2 separate regions of the Homo sapiens genome follow, and region 2 is linked to region 1. Evidence: promoter capture Hi-C in 16 types of primary human blood cells and fetal thymus (Javierre and others, 2016). All regions are on one chromosome and are shown on one strand. Each heading gives the region's core, a stretch centred on a gene start or on the middle of the fragment in contact. The rest is flanking DNA. Distances are from core to core; before and after follow the strand shown.

Region 1 (4,182 bases), core at 962-3,461:
GATATATATTCAATACACATATGTATATATGCAAGGATGTTCACTGTATTACATATGTACAAGATGTTCATTATGGCATTGTTTATAATAGCCAAAGACTGGTCACAATCTAAATTTGTATCAATAGGGGCCCTGTAAAATACTTTGTAGTGAATCCATACAATGAAATTATTTGCAATATTTTAAAAGAATAAATAAGTCTTTAGGTCCCAATGTGGAGACATCCAAATTATGTTAAGGAAAAAAGGCTTGTAGGATAGTACACATAAAATCATCTTTTTTTTTCCTTAAGAAGGGACATACTTGTATATAGGTACACACACACATACACACTCGACGTACACATAACTCCGTTTTCAAAGGTCACAAGTTATTTCCTGGGAATAGGATTGGGAGGATGTAGAATGAGGTAGGTAGAATGATTTTTGTTTGCTTTTCACTTTATATTCTTCCCTACAATTGGAAACCTGTTTTTTAGCCACCGCGCCAGGCCTAATTTAGCATTTTAGATAGTGATTGATGTTATGAAATAATATAACCAGGCAATACGAGACAGTGTGAAGGGTGCTACTTTAGGCTTGTCCTAGTAGGCTTCCTAAACAGGAGCTATCTGAGGAAAGAGGAGGAGGAAGAGCTTCCAGAGATAGCAGACTGGGGCAGGAAAGAGCCTAGTGTCCCAGGGAAATAAGGCAGGCCAGTGTGTGAGCGTCCAGGCGAGGTGGGGAAGAGGGGGAGTGCGCAAGGTACAAGCCAAGTAGGGGATTGTGTGAGAGGCGCCAGGGCCAGATCCTGCAGGGGTTTGCAGGCCGCGGTGAGGGGGTCAGATTTTCTTCCAAAGCCGCCTTGCTCTGTGCAAGCGCACTATCGCAGGCTGCGGGCGACGCTGCCTCTGGCCGGCGCCCTCCGCCGCTCCAGGCCGGATGGTGCCTCCCGTGGGCATGTAGGTGGGGATGGTGGGTTTTGCCTCTGTGCGGTCACCGCCTGTCTGCGTTGCTGCCTTCTCCGGGGCCTCAGACCCTGGAGAAAGCCCCGACAGGGGAGGGGGGCGCGCAGCCGCAGGGGCGTCCAGCTATCGCGCACTGCGGGGGGAGTAGGGGCGGGCGCAGCGCTCGGCACCGCCACGCGGGTTCGGGCCGGGGAAGGCAGGGGCCGGTACGTGACGCGGGGCATGCACGTGGCCTGGGAGTGTGCTTTTCGGGACAGGTGCGGGGGCCGCCGCGCGCGCAAAGGCGCAGACGCACGCGTGCGGGCACCGGGCACCGTCGGCCGTCGGGTTATCCTTGGCTCCGCGGGCGGCCGCCGAGGTCCTGTCCACCCGGAAGGCGCGACGTCCTCGGGGGACGCCAGGGCGCAGGGGCAACTGAGCCGACTTCGCAACTCGGAAGTTTTTCTTTGGCTGTGATGGTCGATTTGCCCGTCTAAGAAATGGGACTCTGGGCCGGGCGCGGTGGCTCAAGCCTGTAATCCCAGCGCCCTGGGAGGCTGGAAGATCGCCTGAGGCCAGCAGTCTAGACCTCGACAACGTAGCAAGACCCCGTCTCAAAAAAAAAAAAAAAAAAGGGGGAGTACTCAAAAGAATAGGAAAGCGCTTTGCAAACTTGGACACGAGTTGGGCGTTTTATTCACTTTCTCTACTACCCTCCTCCCTTTGGGAGCCCCAGGGGCTGGAGTAAGCACGCTACCACCCACTATACCTCTCAGTGCCCGCGGCACAGGAGCCGCACTCGACTTTGCATCCCCCCAGGGCCTGTACACGCCGGAAAAGCTCCCGCGGGGTGCGGTCGCTGGGCCTCGTCACGTGATCCCCACTCAACGCCCCTGAGCGGGGGGGGGAGCAGCGAGCAAGTGCGCATGCGCATCCCTTCTAGCTCTTCCCCTCCACCCCCCACCCGCCCCCTTGGCTCGGACGCAACCACTGTCAGCTCCTCCCCCTCCTCCTCCTTCATCCTTCCTGACATTCACTCCCTTCCCCCAGCCAATTGGTTACGTCAGGCAGACAGGCCGAAGAACCAATCACGACGCTGTGCTCAGAAGCCGCCACGCGGAACCGGCCGGATCCGACTAATAGGGGCCCTTGGAGCGGCCACGCCTCAACCGGGCAGGGTAGCTTGGGCCCAGTGGGCGGTGCTTCTCCTGTCAGCATGTGGGCGGGGTAGGGCGGGGACCAGCAGCCGCAGAGCCGTCCTCGGCGGTGGCGACGACGACGACGTTGCTCAGTCTTGGGGTGGGCTCCGCGGTGCAGGCCGAGCTGCGCGGAGGGCTCGGCGATCAGCGGCGGCGGCGGCAGTGGGGAGGCCGCAGCGCCATGGGGGGGCGTTAGACAGGCTGCGGCGGCCGAGGCGAGGGGCGGCAGCGGTTATCTGGTCCGCGGCGACCTTCGGCCGGGCCCGGGGGTGGGAAGGCCTGGGGCGGGGGTCGTCCCTGGTTGCACGGGGCCGCGGGGCGGGGCTCGCCGGCCGTCGGGGTGCAGGAGGCCTGGGCCGCTGAAAGGAGAAGGCGCCGTCGGTCGCCAGGCCCTGCCGCCGGGCCGCTTGACGACGACGCTCCCGCGGGGGCCCCGCCTGAGGAGGACGCGGCGGCGGTGGCGGCGAGGCCGCGGGAGGCCGCGGAGGATGGAGGAGCGGAAGGAGGAGGGCGAGGCCGAGATCCAGGAGCACGGGCCCGAGCACTGGTTCTCCAAGTGGGAGCGGCAGTGCCTGGCCGAGGCCGAACAGGACGAGCAGCTGCCCCCCGAGCTGCAGGAGGAGGCGGCGGCCGCCGCGCAGCCCGAGCACAAGCAGCAGAAGCTGTGGCACCTCTTCCAGAACTCGGCCACCGCCGTGGCCCAGCTCTACAAAGGTGAGGCCGCCGCCGCCATCTTGGTACCGCTTGGCCGCCCCCGCCCGGGCCCGGCCCCGGCCCTATCGGCTCAGCGGCCGCTTCGGGGGGCCGCGACGGCGGCGGCCTCGGGGATCCCGGCCGGTGGCTCCGCGGCCCTGCCGCCCCCTCCCCGCAAGATGGCGCCGCGGGAGGGAGGCCCGGGGTTGGGGGGACAGGCCAGAGCCGGCGTGGGGGTAGCCCCGCTTTGGGGTGGTCCGAGGGTCCCCGCTCTCCGGGCCCGGCCACCCGGTGTCCCCCTCGGCCCGGAGACGGGAGAGGAGGAGCCCCCGTCACAAAATGGCGAAGGGAGACGGCGGGGCGGCCCCATTGTGCCCTGAGCCGGCCTCGGGGCGGGGACTGCCAGGGGGGGCGCTTCCCTGCGCCGCGGCTCGTCCCTGATCTGTGCCCCTGAGCTCTGCGGCATCCCCTTTTCCCCGCCGCGACCTCCCTGCCCCCCCGGTCCTCACACTGGGTTTGGGATCCCGAAACCCCTGAACAAAATGGCGAAACCTAATATGGCCGTTCCGGAGTGATTGACGCGCAAATAACATTCTTGTTCTCTTTCTTTCTCTTTCTATGTGTGTTTCTTTTTTCTTTTTGGTTTTTTTTTTTTTTGGCTTGCTTTTCAGACCGAGTGTGTCAGCAGCCAGGACTTTCTCTCTGGGTCCCCTTCCAAAACGCAGCCACCGCCGTCACCAATCTCTACAAAGGTAAAGATAACCTTGCTGCATTGCCGATTCAGGGAAGGGCCGCCTGCGTCAGGGTGTCTGCCCTGCGTTCCAAGTGTGTTTTCTGCTCCCCAGCCCAGCTGCTAACCTTGAATACCTTGCAACTTGAGAATCGCGGCGGTGCTCTAGCTAGATCCACCGGAGGCGATTTTGACACCTCCCTCCGCCCCCCGGGACAGATGGCAACGCCTGGGGACGTTTTTGGTTGGCTTCTCCTAGAAGGGGCTGTTGTTGGGCACCCAGTGTATAGAGGCTGCTGAAGGTCCTGCAGTGCCCAAGATAACCGCCCCGGCCCCCTCTCAGCGAAGAATTATCATGCCCCTAAAGTCAGTAGTGCTCAGGTTGAGAAGCGTTGAGCTGGAAGACGGCTGAGCCTTGCCTCCCTCTGGAAAAGACATTGAGGGAAGATAAGAGTTGATGTTTTTTGTACTACAGTCGGAAGTGGGACGAACTTTATGGAAAAGATTCTTGAGTTAGGCATTTGAAAGCGTGGCAGTCTATATAGTTTTGAAGTGCTTGAAAGCTTGCTAATCGGAGTCATCTGCGCGCATGTTAACGTGCTGCTCTTCTCTAGCAATTTGATCAAGTGTTTTCT
Region 2 (4,030 bases), core at 1,207-3,706, 4.8 Mb after region 1:
GTTCAACATTATGCTTCCAACTTTCAGCATGATACCTGACACATTGTAGATGCTCAGTAAATATCTGTGACCTGAATAAGTAACTAAATGTTAGATTAACTTTTCATTGTTTTCTAAGCTCTTATTCAGTAAATACTTGCAATTCGTTAGCATTTGCTTTTAGAACTTAATCAGATTTGAAATGTTTATAAATAATCTTTGTATATTTCCTAAAATATTTAGTTTTCCTCCTTAAGATTTTTTTGGCATTATTTGAAATTAAATCAAGTAGTTGCTTGCTTATTTTGAGGAAAAATTATTTTAGCTAGAATTAAATAGAAAAGAAATTCATTTTCATTATCCTTTCAAAACCTTTTCTGATGTCCCCAAAGCTAATGTAGGGGCTGTGCCTCTGTGCCCTCATATTACCCTGTATTTCTCCCCAGTCATAGTGCTCACAACACTACATTATATTTATGTGTTTGTCTATCTCACTCACAAGATAAGCTGAAGCACAAGGAACAAGTTGTTCATCCCAGGCTAAATAACTGGTACATGGTAGGCACTAAAGACGTATTTGTTGGGTGAATGATGGATGGATATAGTACTGTGATCGTTAGTGAACTTCTGGAGGCAGAGAGACTCTGAAATTCATAATCTTATTCCCACTGTATCTGTCATGTTGCCCTGAACCTAGATGACCCTCAAGAAAAATTTGATAAATAAATGTGTCAATGAATGCTTCAATGGTAAACCGACTGAAGAAGTTTGGTTACTCTTTTATAACTTTTATAATTGTTATAAACAGTATCATAGGCTCACCTGGTTTTGAATGCTAACACCCTGCTTACAAAGCAAACTCCTTAATTTTCATTAACCCCAGTTTTCTCATTAAGAAAACAGTGCTTCCTGAAGTTATTATAAGGATTAAGTTAATAAAATAATTTCTTAGTATAGTGCCTGGTACACAACAAACTCTTAGTAATTCATACCAAATAAAATTGGCCTTTTGTAACCAGAAATCTTGATACACCAGTCTTTTACTGTTTGCTGCTTTCTTATAAGCTTGGTTTTACTTTATTTTTTAAATTGATTTAAAAAAATTTTTTTGTTGTGTTTAAAACTACCACTAGGTGTCAGTAATATCCTGTGACTTTCAGTTACAGTGCAACCTAATTAGGCAGAGAGCAATGTGAATTTATGCAACGTTGAAGTCTGGCTTATCTGTAGCTCCTAATGAAAAATGCCAAATTCCCTCCTCCTTTCTGATCAAAGCCCACCGAATAATGAAGCTGGAGCTGTTACTGATGCTTGGCTGAGTGGAATGTAAATGAATGCCAAAAATGAATTCTTTTGAATTCTTTCATCCCCTGGGATCATCCCCCAGGACTGACCAAAGAGCAGTGCGTGAAGTGCAGGTAACCCTCTGGAAAGGCTGAATCCCCCAGCCCCAACTTCTTCACCTGTCACCACCCATTATTACCACCACACCCCACCCTGGGAATCCCTGCTAACCAGAACTCCTAACACGTGGGAGAACTATATAAATATCTGGTGAGGTTGTACCTTGAAAAGAACAGGACAGGAGGATGCTTTCATTGCCAAAACTGACCCTGACATCTCCAGACAGAACTAAGAACACACTTTCTGGGAAATATATATGTATTTTTCAGTTACACTTTTGATTTGTGTACCCAGTGCTGTGCCTCCACTTTATATTCATTCAACAAATATTTAACTCACTAAGGGTCCCTTGTTTGGCAGGAAGGGTGCTGAAGATAGACAGATGAATGGGACAGTATGGTGAACTCGTGAGTTAGACTGCTTCTGGGTTTGAGTTATCTTCATCTTGCACCAGCTGTGTATTTTTAGGCAAGTTTCTTAATTTCTCTATGCCTCAGCTTACTCACCCGTACATTGGTGATAAAGATAGTACCTTCCTCCTAGGATTGTCAGGGTGAAATGAAATGCTTATATGTAAAATACTTGGTAGCATGGCACATAGTCAGCATTCTATGATCTCTGTGATCTCTGCCTGTTGGTGTTACGATGTTCCTGTTCTCGGGCAGTTTAATGGAGGAGACAAGTAAAGAAGTAGTTATAGTACAGTATGGGTACAAAATGTCATAGGAACAAAAAAAACTAAAGTAGGCTTTTGTGGAGCTAAAACTCCTCCCAAAAACCTAACCTGCTTCTATTATTTTTATTTTTTGAAAAAGGAGTGTCTTGAGTTGGTGTGACTAAATAGGAATAACATGATTTTACACATGATTTGGAACCTTCGGCCTCCCACTTGCTTGCTGGATGACCTTGGTTAAGTTGCTTCCCTTCCTTGGTCTCATCATGATACCTACTGCATGGAATTATCATAACAATTAAATGAAATGAAAATCTATAGAAACACCTAACCCAGTTACCTGGGATGTAGTATCAGTTCTCTTCTTCCTCCTGGGTTCCAACCAAAATAAAGACAACTTTTTGGAGCGCAACATTTTCTTAAATTGAGTTTCTCCTTTTCTTTGGAAGTTCATTTTTATTATTCTTGACTCTACGTAATATTTCAATCCAGGCTAACAAAATGTGGCCTCTTAGAGTCCTTGGGAAAACCCACCAATTAGGTACAGAATATTTTCTGAGTAGTAAATTAGTTATGTACGTGTATTGGGGGGGTTATTGAAAATCCTTTGTCTATGAATTCCTAAATAACATTATTAATTTTTACTATATTTGGAAGATAATTTGCTGAGCTAGAGTAAATTTAGCTCCATCCACCTCTATCCAAAACTTAAACATTAAAATAGTAAAATCTGAGTTTAGTTTATTGAACTATTAGAAGGGTCATAAATCACTGTTAGTATTATTGTCCATACCCTTCCAGATATGAGAACTGGATCAAAAGCATGCAAGTACCATTATGCCAAATATATATAAGGTAACCAGCTTGATTTAGGTCTAAAAGACAGACTCGTCTTGGAGTAATTGTGGTTTTGATCTAGAAAGCATGTCTGTATGCCTTTATGTCATCTCATGTTTCTCCCTAACTTAGCACTAATCACACTGCATCAGATGACACAATATATATGAAAGATCTGGGTCAGTAGTCTCATTTCATAAATAACAAAGCATGTATAATTGTTCTTATTTTTGAGATGCTGAGGTGTTATAATCATGTACACCCCCAAAGACATGTATAAGTATGTCGATTGAAGGTTTTTGTTTTAAATGGACTAATTTACCTCTGAATTGACTATCTTCTGATTCTGAAAATTGAATTCATCTCATAGGTAATGTAGATGTTGCCCAGACTTCTAAAATGTGGCTATTTTGTATAGTCCACATCTGATTCATACATTAAAAAAAAAAAATTCATGACCTACTTTGCTTTCAGAAATTCTTCCTCTGACATGCCAGAAACACCCCACCCCAGGGCCTGTGCCCTCACTGTCCCCTCAGCCTGGCAGCCTGGAACTCTCTTGGCCCAGATGGTCACAAGGCTCCATCCAGCCTTTATTCAGATACCACCTTGGTGAGACCACCCCTCATACATACTCCCTCTCCTCCTTCTCTGATTCATTTTTTCTTCTCAGCACTTGTAGCATCCTAAATATTTTACGTATTTATATTGTTTATAGTCAATTCCTTGAGGACAGGGATTTATCTCTGTTCTGTGCGTGGCTATATGCCCAGTCTAGAATGGTGCTTATTCATTCTCTTGTAAGTACTTAAGAAAAATGTGATGAATGAATGGCAATTACCTACCTGTTCTGTAGTTTAAATTATGTTTCTCCCCCTCAGGCATCTTGGTGTATAGAGCCCACAGAATAATCGAGTCTTGTCAAGAAGCATTCATCTTGCGCCTCTTTCGCCAGAAAAACAAACGTGGTTTTATTAAAGCTTTCACAGACAATGCTGTTGCCTTTGATACTGGTTTTTGTCATGTGGAAAGAGTGATGAGAAATCTTTTTGTGAGGAAACTGTATCTGTGGCCAAGGTAAAGAACATTATGTGACAAATAATGATGACATTATTTGTCATCTTTGTTTGTGAGATC

What was found. Contacts are between HindIII fragments. The CHiCAGO score rates a contact against its expected background, and 5 or more counts as called.
Region 2: a fragment that was not itself captured here is called in contact with the fragment with the promoter of HAPSTR1 in region 1 in 1 of 17 cell types (naive CD8 T cells); the score reaches 6.6 in naive CD8 T cells.

What each region holds. Positions count from the first base shown.
Region 1 is chr16:9,089,433-9,093,614 of GRCh38, forward strand. It overlaps HAPSTR1 (HUWE1 associated protein modifying stress responses), which reads left to right and starts at 2,212. Exons shown (of 4, transcript NM_014117.3): 1 at 2,212-2,838; 2 at 3,489-3,569. The coding sequence starts at 2,613. RefSeq lists enhancers at 377-1,242, 3,512-3,681 and silencers at 1,153-1,283, 2,072-2,141, 2,312-2,651, 2,862-3,361. The HindIII fragment of the contact is 14,700 bases long and covers 1-4,108 here.
Region 2 is chr16:13,922,787-13,926,816 of GRCh38, forward strand. It overlaps ERCC4 (ERCC excision repair 4, endonuclease catalytic subunit), which reads left to right. Exons shown (of 11, transcript NM_005236.3): 3 at 3,775-3,970. LOC105371093 (a long non-coding RNA gene) reads right to left here and starts at 3,820. Exons shown (of 4, transcript XR_007065000.1): 1 at 3,739-3,820. The HindIII fragment of the contact is 2,829 bases long and covers 1,043-3,871 here.